Regions from separate parts of the Homo sapiens genome. Here all the other regions are linked to region 1. The links are contacts of gene promoters, found by promoter capture Hi-C in blood cells and fetal thymus (Javierre and others, 2016). All regions are on one chromosome and are shown on one strand. The core of a region is centred on a gene start or on the middle of the fragment in contact, and the rest is flanking DNA. Distances in the headings are between cores, read along the strand shown. Region 1 holds the start of PHKA2 (phosphorylase kinase regulatory subunit alpha 2). Region 2 holds the start of EIF1AX-AS1 (EIF1AX antisense RNA 1). Region 3 overlaps SCML1 (Scm polycomb group protein like 1).

What was found. The method cuts DNA at HindIII sites, captures the fragments that hold promoters and counts their contacts. A CHiCAGO score of 5 or more calls a contact.
Region 2: a contact is called between the fragment with the promoter of EIF1AX-AS1 here and the fragment with the promoter of PHKA2 in region 1, in 1 of 17 cell types (neutrophils). The highest score is 10.5, in neutrophils.
Region 3: a contact is called between a fragment that was not itself captured here and the fragment with the promoter of PHKA2 in region 1, in 1 of 17 cell types (total B cells). The highest score is 6.1, in total B cells.

Annotation. Positions count from the first base shown.
Region 1 is chrX:18,982,824-18,986,098 of GRCh38, reverse strand. It overlaps PHKA2 (phosphorylase kinase regulatory subunit alpha 2), which reads left to right and starts at 1,985. Exons shown (of 33, transcript NM_000292.3): 1 at 1,985-2,244. The coding sequence starts at 2,167. RefSeq lists enhancers at 1,151-1,200, 1,182-1,682, 1,683-2,183 and a silencer at 1,301-1,990. The HindIII fragment of the contact is 8,902 bases long and covers 1-3,275 here.
Region 2 is chrX:20,138,606-20,141,658 of GRCh38, reverse strand. It overlaps EIF1AX-AS1 (EIF1AX antisense RNA 1), which reads right to left and starts at 1,691. Exons shown (of 2, transcript NR_046592.2): 1 at 1,424-1,691; 2 at 1,215-1,324. EIF1AX (eukaryotic translation initiation factor 1A X-linked) reads left to right here. Exons shown (of 7, transcript NM_001412.4): 1 at 1-34; 2 at 3,037-3,053. The coding sequence starts at 19. RefSeq lists enhancers at 1-89, 420-579. The HindIII fragment of the contact is 4,524 bases long and covers 1-2,115 here.
Region 3 is chrX:17,749,259-17,752,382 of GRCh38, reverse strand. It overlaps SCML1 (Scm polycomb group protein like 1), which reads right to left. Exons shown (of 8, transcript NM_001037540.3): 5 at 2,879-2,983; 6 at 2,090-2,489; 7 at 417-568. Among named protein-coding and RNA genes, the nearest start is that of SCML1, 13 kb to the right of the region's middle. RefSeq lists an enhancer at 1,399-2,598. The HindIII fragment of the contact is 2,156 bases long and covers 291-2,446 here.

The sequences.
Region 1 (3,275 bases), core at 736-3,235:
TATTCACCCCTAGACCACAGCAAATTCTTCATGGAGGCACATCACATGGATCACTGCATAATTCAAAAGCCAATATTAAGAAAACAAAGTATTATATGAAGTAATATGTGAGCTGATGTGGGGTTTGGTGCTTTAGTTGAGTGACAGAGTAAAGCCATAGATTTATGTTCTGGAATATCTAATATAAACTTGGTTAAGGACCAAACATAAGGGAACGCAGCTAAGCAGGACTGATTTCATTTACTCATGCGAGCAACATTAATTGAGCTCCAACTATATGCTCAACACTGTACCAGGCATAGTAGGAGATACCAAAAGACTGTTTCAATGAATAACGTACATTCCAATTAGGAAAATATGCCTCATCCACACATGAAAACATAAATAACAACAGGAGGCAATACATTGTGGCCAAGTGACAACGAAATTAGCTATGATTTATTAAGTATTTTTCTACTAGCCAGGCTTGTGCTAAATGCTTTATATTCATCCTCTTGATCTTAAGTCATCCTGTGAGGTAGGTGCTATGATTATCTCCATTTTACAGATGAGAACACTTAAGTTCAAACATGTAAAACGGGATGCCAAAGGTCATACGACTTGTAAATGACAGAACTGACATTTGAACTCAAAATGAACTGACTCTAAGTCCTAAGCTCTTACTAAACCAATGGCTACAGAAATTCAGAAAATGGGGAAGGCTAATAGAGGAGCTGAGCTGGCCGTTAAGGGAAAGATAGGCTTCAGTTAGTCAAGGAGGAGGAAGAAGGGCCGAAGGGGTCAAGCATAGAGTAAATGCATGGAGACTGGAAAAGAGCTTGCGGAAATTGATTGCATTAGTCTAGCTGTCCAGTAAATTCCTATGTGGGCCAGATTTTGGTGGACAATGAATACCAGGCCGAAGATTGTGAACTGTAGGTTATCAGCAGCCACGAAACATTATAATGAATGCCAAGTTTCAAGCTGTAGACCCGTGGGAGATGAACTGCGAACCTGCCCGAGGAAGCGGCGCCCAAGTGGCTAGGGGCGGGGTCACAGGCGCCAGAGGTGTCGCTGGGGCACCTCTCCGGGCCTTCCCCCTTTTTCTTCCGGGCTGGGTCCCGCTACTCCAGTTCCGCTAGGCGGCGGAGACGGGGCCAGAGGTGGGACTACAATCTTGGCCCTCAGAGGGGTGCCCAGGCGGCCGCGGTAGGCGGCCCTCTTTCTCCGGCCTCGAGTGGGACTGGCACCCGTCTCGGGGGGCTCCACACTACCACGCAGGAAAGCCAACTCGTCCGCCGCCCGAAGCCGGGTTCCCCTAGACTCCCACGGGCCGCCTCCTTTTTCGTCCCCCCCGAGGCCGCGACTCTGAGGGTTCCGCTCTGCGGCGGAGGTGGGGCCAGGGGCGGGGATGTGGGCGGGGCCGTGAGGTCGTTCCAGGGCGCGGGGCGGGGCCGCCCCCTTACCTGTGCCCCTCAGGGTTCCAAACGTTCCACTCCGCGGCAGGGGCGGGGGCGAGTCCGGAGGGCGGGTCCAAGGCGCCCAGGTGGCCGCGGCAGAAGGGCCTGTTTCTCTGGCCTTGGCTGTGGTTGGCAGCCGGCCGGGGAGAGAAGGGACTCAGGGAGGCAACCTGGTTCCCGCCCGTTGCTGATTTCGCAGCGGCTCTCCCGGGCCGCCCCCTTTTCCTTCCTCCTCAGGCCGCGACTTGGAGGGTTCCGCTCCGCGGCGGGGGCAGAGCCAGGGGCGGGGCTGAGCGCGGCCTGGGCGATCTCCCCGGCGGCTGGGGTGGGCTGGCGTCTTCTTCGCGCCCGGGGGACCTCCTCGCGACCGCCGGGACGTAAAAGGGGCTTGGCAGGGGCGTCCTCGCCCCACTCCCGGAACCTGGTTTCCCGCTGCTCCCGCGAGCGTCGGGAGCCCAGCAGGCCTGGCCGAGGCGGGACCTTCGTCGCTCCAGCCCCCGTCCCCGCCCCCGCGCCTCCCCGCCGCGCGGAGCTCTGGTTGGCTTGCTTTCCAACCGGACTTTGGGGCTAGCGTTTAGAAAAGTCTCGACCTCCTCCGGCCCGGTCCCATCCCAAGAACCGACTAAGGCTGTGAGTGTCCGGGAACCAGACCCGCTTGGAGGCCACAGCCCCGACGTCCCGCGCCCACGCGGCAGATCGGGCGCTGCGGCCTGGGAGCCTCGGGGAGATGCGGAGCAGGAGCAATTCCGGGGTCCGCTTGGACGGGTACGCGCGGCTGGTGCAGCAAACCATCCTGTGTTACCAGGTAAGGAGGGACCGCCCCCAGGGAACGCGTGGAACTACCCTCTCATGTAACTCATTCTCCTTCCCAGGTCTGGCCCTCTTGTGACCTGAGACCTTGCAATTAAGAGTTTGCTATTTGAATCTAGTCCTTGCTAGCCAGTGATTACCACCCCATTGCCACCCCGTGCTCCTTAAGATTCAGGGGACCTAACTGTTGCTACGGCTACTTTTCACAGAATTCTTTGGCCATTGTTCAGGATGAGAATGAGCCGCCTCCGTGCCCGGGTCCAAACTGCCTCTTTTTGCATTGACTCTGCTTTTTTTGGACGAGAAGAGGTGTGGGGGGTTTGGACAGACTACACTGAATGAGAACAGTAGACAGGAGTGAAGAAGCTCCTGAAGTTTACGCAGGACTCTGCAGTGTGGGGCGACAGCTACCGTCCCTCCCATGAGCTGTCTTGGTAGAGACCCACCTGGGAAGCCCTTAGGGGCTACTTTGGTTGCTATTTTACAGATAAGAAAATTGTGAGGCTAGAAAGGTCACTGCATGTAGCAGGTCAGACCCAAAGGCTCCCAAGCTCACAGGGTCCTATGACACTGCCCATGTGGTCCGAGGTATGAATTTGCCTGCTATGCTTTGTATTCCTGGGCTAAAATTATGTGTGGGTCCATCAGTGTAAGACCACTGAACTATTTTTATTCCTAGTGAAGACAGCAGCTATGTTTCTTGCCCTCAATCAACAGCAACTATTTATAGGGCCTTCAAAGTCAACGAAGGAAGTGGCATTCAGGGGTTAGAGGCCTGACCTGCAAGTTGGGAGCCATGGTCATTTCCAAGGCACTGACCATTTTCCCTTCTTAACTAATTTCTTAGCCTTGTTTCCTCACTTAGGAAATATTTGTGGTGTATCTGTTATATGCAAAGCACTCTACAAAGTGCTGGGGTTACAAGAATAAATGATCGTAGTGCAGTAACATTTATGCATAAGGTATAGGTCCAAAGTCCCTTAATCTGTTTTCTTTGTTGTTGTTTGTTTGTTTTTGAGACAGGGT
Region 2 (3,053 bases), core at 442-2,941, 1.2 Mb before region 1:
GAGGTCGCCGCCACCGCCATGCCCAAGAATAAAGGTAATGCCGCCCGGACCCCCGGACCACGGCTCTGCTCGGCCGGGTCTCCCAGGTCCTGCCCGTAGATTGCAGGTCACCCAGGCCGCAGTGACCCTTTTTCCTTCCCGCCCTGCCTGCCCGCGGCTGGGCGCCCCACACGCGACTCTGAGCTCGGGAGAGGAGCTGGGAAGTTAACTCCTGTTGCCCAGTTTGGTCACATTGGGGTGGAGCCGGCGCCATTTTTGTAGGGCCTCCTGCGGGAGAATGTGGGCTTTTGCTCCTGATTCGCGCCAGACTGACCGCTGCTCGGTGGGGACGGTGGCGGGAACCTTCCCCGGGGCGGCCTAGGTTTAGTAGATAGGCCCCTTTGGCCTTCCCGGGCATGAGGGGTTATAATCCCTGGAAGCCGTTCTGAACTTTCAGAGTGCTGTCTGCATTCGTGAGCACCAGGTACTCCTGCATGGGTTTCTTTATGGACAGTTCAGTATTGTTGAGGCTACTCGCTGTCCCTTGTGAACAGTGGGTGAAACCTTGATACATTTCTAAGGCTCACCTCTAGAGATTTACTCTCTCCATCCCTTTACAGGATATAGCTTATGTTTGTTTGCTGAAGACTTATTCCATATTGAGCCAAGTTTTCTACTTTTGCTTCAGATGATGCATATGTTGTGAGAATAAAGACCTAATTTAAGTGTCCTCCATTCTGAGGCTAAGCGTTCACAAATGATCAGACTTGAGGATAACTTTATTTGGGATTTCCAAAACGGAAGGCCTAATCTTAAAAAAAAAAAAACAAAAACAAAAAACAGAACACTCCTAAAGAAATTACTTTTATAGATTTACAGTGTTCCTGTCATTTTTAATAGCCGTATAACTTGAAGAAAATTGTGCAAGTAAATATAGGGAAAATACTGTATTTTCCTACAGGAGAGGAGCATACTTCATAGTCCGTAAGTAGTCTCCTTTGATTATTCATTCTAGAGGAAACCCTCCCCTGACACAGGCCTACTTCTGCTCTCTTTTCTACTTGACAGCTGGCTCCAGGGATTCTACCACATTTCCTCTTTGTAGCTGTCACTTATTACTTTATCCCTTAGGGTACTTGGTCGAGGTGTTCTGTGCACAAGTTGGTGCAGTCACTGCTCATTATTTTGGAAAAGATGGAGTTATAAACAAAAAATTTTAAAGTCTTACAGTTTTCTTCTGTATAATCCTTTATTCTCTCTGAGGTGGTAAGGGGATCACTTCCATCTTATTCTCACCTTTATTTCTAGTAATAAGATTTCCAATTCTTCCACCAGGCTGTAAGCTCTACAAGGCAGGAATAGTATCTGTCTTAATCTCATTGGATTGCCAGCACTTGACAATTAGTAGATGCTTAATAAATATTTGTTGGTTTAAGTCACCTACCTCCTGTCGACTCCACCCTTAGTGAATAATAGGTTCTGCTTTGGTTCCAAGGGGATAGGACTTCTACACTAAATCACATCTAGTTCCCTAGCCTCATGTCTTAAGAAAGAGCCTCTCTGGGAATTTCTCCAAAACAACTCTGGTTTAAAGAATGTTGATGTCACTTTAATTGTTGTACACTCAGACCTAGTCTCATTCATTCAACAGAGAATTTAAAGAACATCCCATTACATGGCAATAAAATACAAAGGGGAGTGATCCGGGTATGGTTAATTCTGGTAAATTGACAAGTAATTAGTCTTTTCTTAAATAACATTTGAGGCATACAAAAAATACAGCTAACATGATATACCTGGGAACCCATTACTCTGAATTTAAGAATTACAGCGCAGATTGAGGTAAAGCCCTAATCACCTTTTACTCTCTTTTTGGAGGTAATCACCAGGCTGAGTTTGGTGTTTATCATTCCTGTACTGTCTGAAACCAATCAGTTCTTAGTTATCTTACTTAGAGGAATGGTACTTTTCATGACCTAATTTAAGTGTCCTCCATTTTTTTTTGCTGCTTCCAAGCTCTTCCCATGAGTCTCTTAGGGTCATTACCACTTACAGCCTTTTTCCTGCCTTTTGGAAATGGCTGCCAATGTGGTTTCCTTTCTGGAATGGGAGCAAAATGCTGTGGAGAGGTAAGCTTATGTGGGGGCTAGGGGCAAAAAAAACATTGTGACTTTGGTCACCCCAGCTTACTGACTGTAATCAGTGAACTGATTTACTCACTGAAGCTAAGCGACTTACTTAACTTCTCTGAGCTTCAGGGAACTCATGGGTAAACTGGGAATAAATGAATGTTATGACCTCATGGGGTGATTGTGACAAGTAAATGGGCAGAATTATTGCATAGTGGTTAAGAGCATGGTCACTGGGGTCATATAATAGAAACAGGGATGTTGAGTAGGGACCAGCATTATAAAAGAAAGTAAATTGGGTACCGAACAGATCTTCTTTATTTTTTAAGAGACAGTGTCTCGCTATGTTGCCCAGGCTAGCCTGGAACCTCCTGGGCTTGCTCAAGTGATCCTCCCACCTGAGCCTCCTGAGTAGCTGAGACCCTAGGCGCACACCACTGCACCCAGTGAGATTTCAATATTTATGGTACTCTGCTACCAAAAGTTTGAAAACCACAGTTCTCTGTCCAGACACTGTCTTCACTTAATTTTGAAAGTATCGGGTTCCTTGCATAGGGCCTGGCTTTAGAAGACACCCAAGATTTCCGCTTAGAAGAATATGTATAGAATTGCATTTTTATTTCAAAAGGATGGGTGCTAAAGTGAAATGTTTTTCTATATTTTTTAACATAATATCTGCTATTTATGTGTATTTTATGTCAGAAAAATCCCCAAAGGAAATTCCAAGAAGGGTAGGGAGGTGATAATGTGTTAATGTTGGGATTGGAGATTGTAAATTTAATATGATTGTGTAGCTAAAATAGATGAATTTTTTAATTTAAGTGATCTTTTAAAAAATGGTTTTATAAGCCTTAATTTCATTTTATTTCATACTGTTTTACAGATAATTAATGTCATTTACCTCCTTTTCTTTTTTTTAAACCATCAGGTAAAGGAGGTAAAAAC
Region 3 (3,124 bases), core at 119-2,618, 1.2 Mb after region 1:
AATCGAGGCAAATGGAATCAGTTGTTGAATCACTGGTTATATAAAACGAAGGCCACCCTGTTATAGCTTGTGGTTACCCCCTCCTCCTCGTGGTCCTGGTGCCCAGCTGGGAGCAGATAGGGGGAGGATCTTTGTATCTGTCATTACAAAGGGGAGGTACACCTGAGTGGCCATGCTGAATCATCATGTCTTAAGAAGCTGAGGCAGTTTGTATTTTAGGCACTTCTACACCCATTTAAAGAACAGACCATTAGCCTACCATTTAAGGCTAACCTTGGGCAAAATAAGCTTTCTCATATATGGAAAAATCAGCTAATAGGGTTCTCCCACCATTCACACAGTATCCAACTGAAAGACCTGCACAGAGGTCATTCAAAGGCATTACAGCAGGAAAACAGGATCAAAAGATACATTACATGGCTTCTGAAGAGGTCGACAAGAGGGCATAATGCAAGAGGATCTGTTTGTTTTAGAAATAGGACCACTGCTTCCACCGACCAGGTTGAAGGGTGCTTAGTGATGCTTCCTTCCTCTATGTAACCGTCATTTTCAACTGGTGACCTTGTAACTTCAATGGAGAGGGGGAAAAGAAAAAAAAGACAAATCACACTCGACCTGATCATTATCCTGAAAGAAGAGATGTTAGGTAAGGAGGAATGCTCTCTTTGTTGGAACCTTCTGTGATGTTCCTAGCAAGGAGTCAAGACTCCAACTGTAAAATCTAGTGAAAGCCTATATAAAGATGATGTGGGGATGCCTACACAAGAGTGTCCCATCTGACCTCCCCTAAATAGCAAAAGCTGGTTCAGAAGTTACATTAAAGTTTCAAAGATCACAAAACAGACTAAGTAAACCAAGTCTTCTTTGGCCACAGGCAAATATGGCAAAAGATCTGTCACTTGGGTAAAATTAGGTTAATCTAACCTAACCTATGACTCTCTTCAAGTATTTCAAGGAATTTCTCTCTTAATCTATCTAGATTAGGTTAATTTTACTAGCAAAATATAATGGAAATTCTCCAAATTTACAGTTTTATAATTGCTTAAATTTGTTCCTTTTAATCAATGAATCTCAATAACAACCCCATTATCTTTAAGAACCAAATTAGTACTTTTATCAAATCTTCCCCACGTATTCAATAAGGTTATTTTTAGTATCGCTTTACTTTTTAGATTCCTGTCTCTCGTGGCTTAAGTGCTAATGTGCATTGTGAAGAAAACAAGATTATTTTCTGCTGAACTAGGTCAGAAGTAACTAACATTTTATTTAATTCCTCTTTCATGTTTAATTGCATAGTAATAGAGATTTTGGTCAAAGGTTTATATGTTTAAAAAATAACTGAGATATGAGACAGTTTAACTGCTCATACTTCAGAAAGTTTTAGCTATGCTCTACACTAAGTTGTGTTGAAATTTCTTTGTGTACTGACAAGTATCCTTTTACTCACCCACAGTGTTAGACTCCCTAAAATTAGTGTGTGATGACTAAAGTGGGTTTTGTAATTAGTTAGGAAAATTTGTTTCTCCAACCAGGACCATCAACACAATTTGATCTTTTTGTGTGTGTGAATTAGCCAAAAACATACCCTTTCTTCCCTACCATCTGGGCTCTTGCCATATCAGGAGTGTTTTTTATTTATCTAGGGAAAGGGTAAATAAAAATAGAAGATTTGGAAAAGCACAATGGGGCAGAGTTCTAGAAGTGCTACTCACCAGCTCTGTGATCGTGGGGATGGCGTAATAAATGTGCCAAAACCATGGGGTCATTATGAGTATAAGTGGAGAAGAGGCATGTCAGCTGATTGGTGCAGTGCCTTGCACATAATATGCATTGAATAAATGTTAGTCATCATTCTGAATATCACCTAAAACCAGCCCTCAAAATAGGAAACGAACAGCTTCCACTAGTTTGCATCAAGGATGTTGATAAATATAGGTCAAATAGTGCTACTTGTAAATATGGCATTTCAAACTCACCAAACCAGAAGGGAAGCAGAGAGATGATCCAGTATACCTATTCTCCATCAAAGCTGAGTAACTCATCATCTCAGGGGCATGTACCAAATTGGGCTCTCCCTGGGCCAGCATACCTGAAGGTGGTGCTGCAGAAGCATGGTCAGTTGAGTAAGTGTTGTGGATGCTGTCAGCCCGAGGGTTGCCAAGGCAGAGCCCTGAAGAAGAACCATACGTTGCACCATCAGATGCATAATACGGCTGACAATTATGCTCAGAGAAATCTGAGGGATGCACTGGACTCGGAGTGCGGCTGAGGATCGGGTCCTCCTCCAGCTCAGCTCGCTGGTATTCTTCCATGCAAAAGGATGGCCTTGGAAGGTTGCTCGGGGAATTATTCTCACGCCTTGACACTGGTAAAGTGGGGCTGTAACTTTCAGGGTAGGAGAATGTCTCGTAAACCTCATTTTTCTTCATTTTCTGGAGTTTAAGCTTTTTAACAAGCCGGTAAGAATGCTTTTTATATCCATATCGCTTCTGAAATCACACAAACACAGCATAAACCAACAGTGAGTAAAAAAGTAAATAAAATTAGTAGCAAATACATTAATACTTATTTTCCATGCAACATTGCTTTACATTATTAAAAATAAATGGTCCCTTTTGATTATATAATTCTTCAATCCTACATTTTAATTGTATTTTACACATTATAATTACAAACATAAAAATAGGCAGCATCATAAATTATCAAACCTAAACTTCAGCGTTCTCCCAACAGAGTTTAGTCTCCATCTACTGTTACAAGTATAGACATGCCTTGCTAATCTCACACAGATACTGGTACTCTCTCACTTCTAGCTCATTGGCATCTTTACAAACCAGAGGTTTATCACAGTTGTAAAAATGTTTTTTATAACACTTACATGATTTGTCCACAGGGATCTCGCATGGAAACGTTGGATTTTTGAAACCTTTCTACGAATCACATCAATCTTCTTATCCAGGTTTTGCAGAGCATCATATATAACCTATTATAATACAATGTAGTCATATAATTGGTATACAATGTAAAATATAATTTTTTATTTCAAAGAAAAGTAACGTGAAAATACCATTAAGTCAAATGTTAACTGCTAGACACAACAAAAGTTCTCAAGCCATCAGAAATG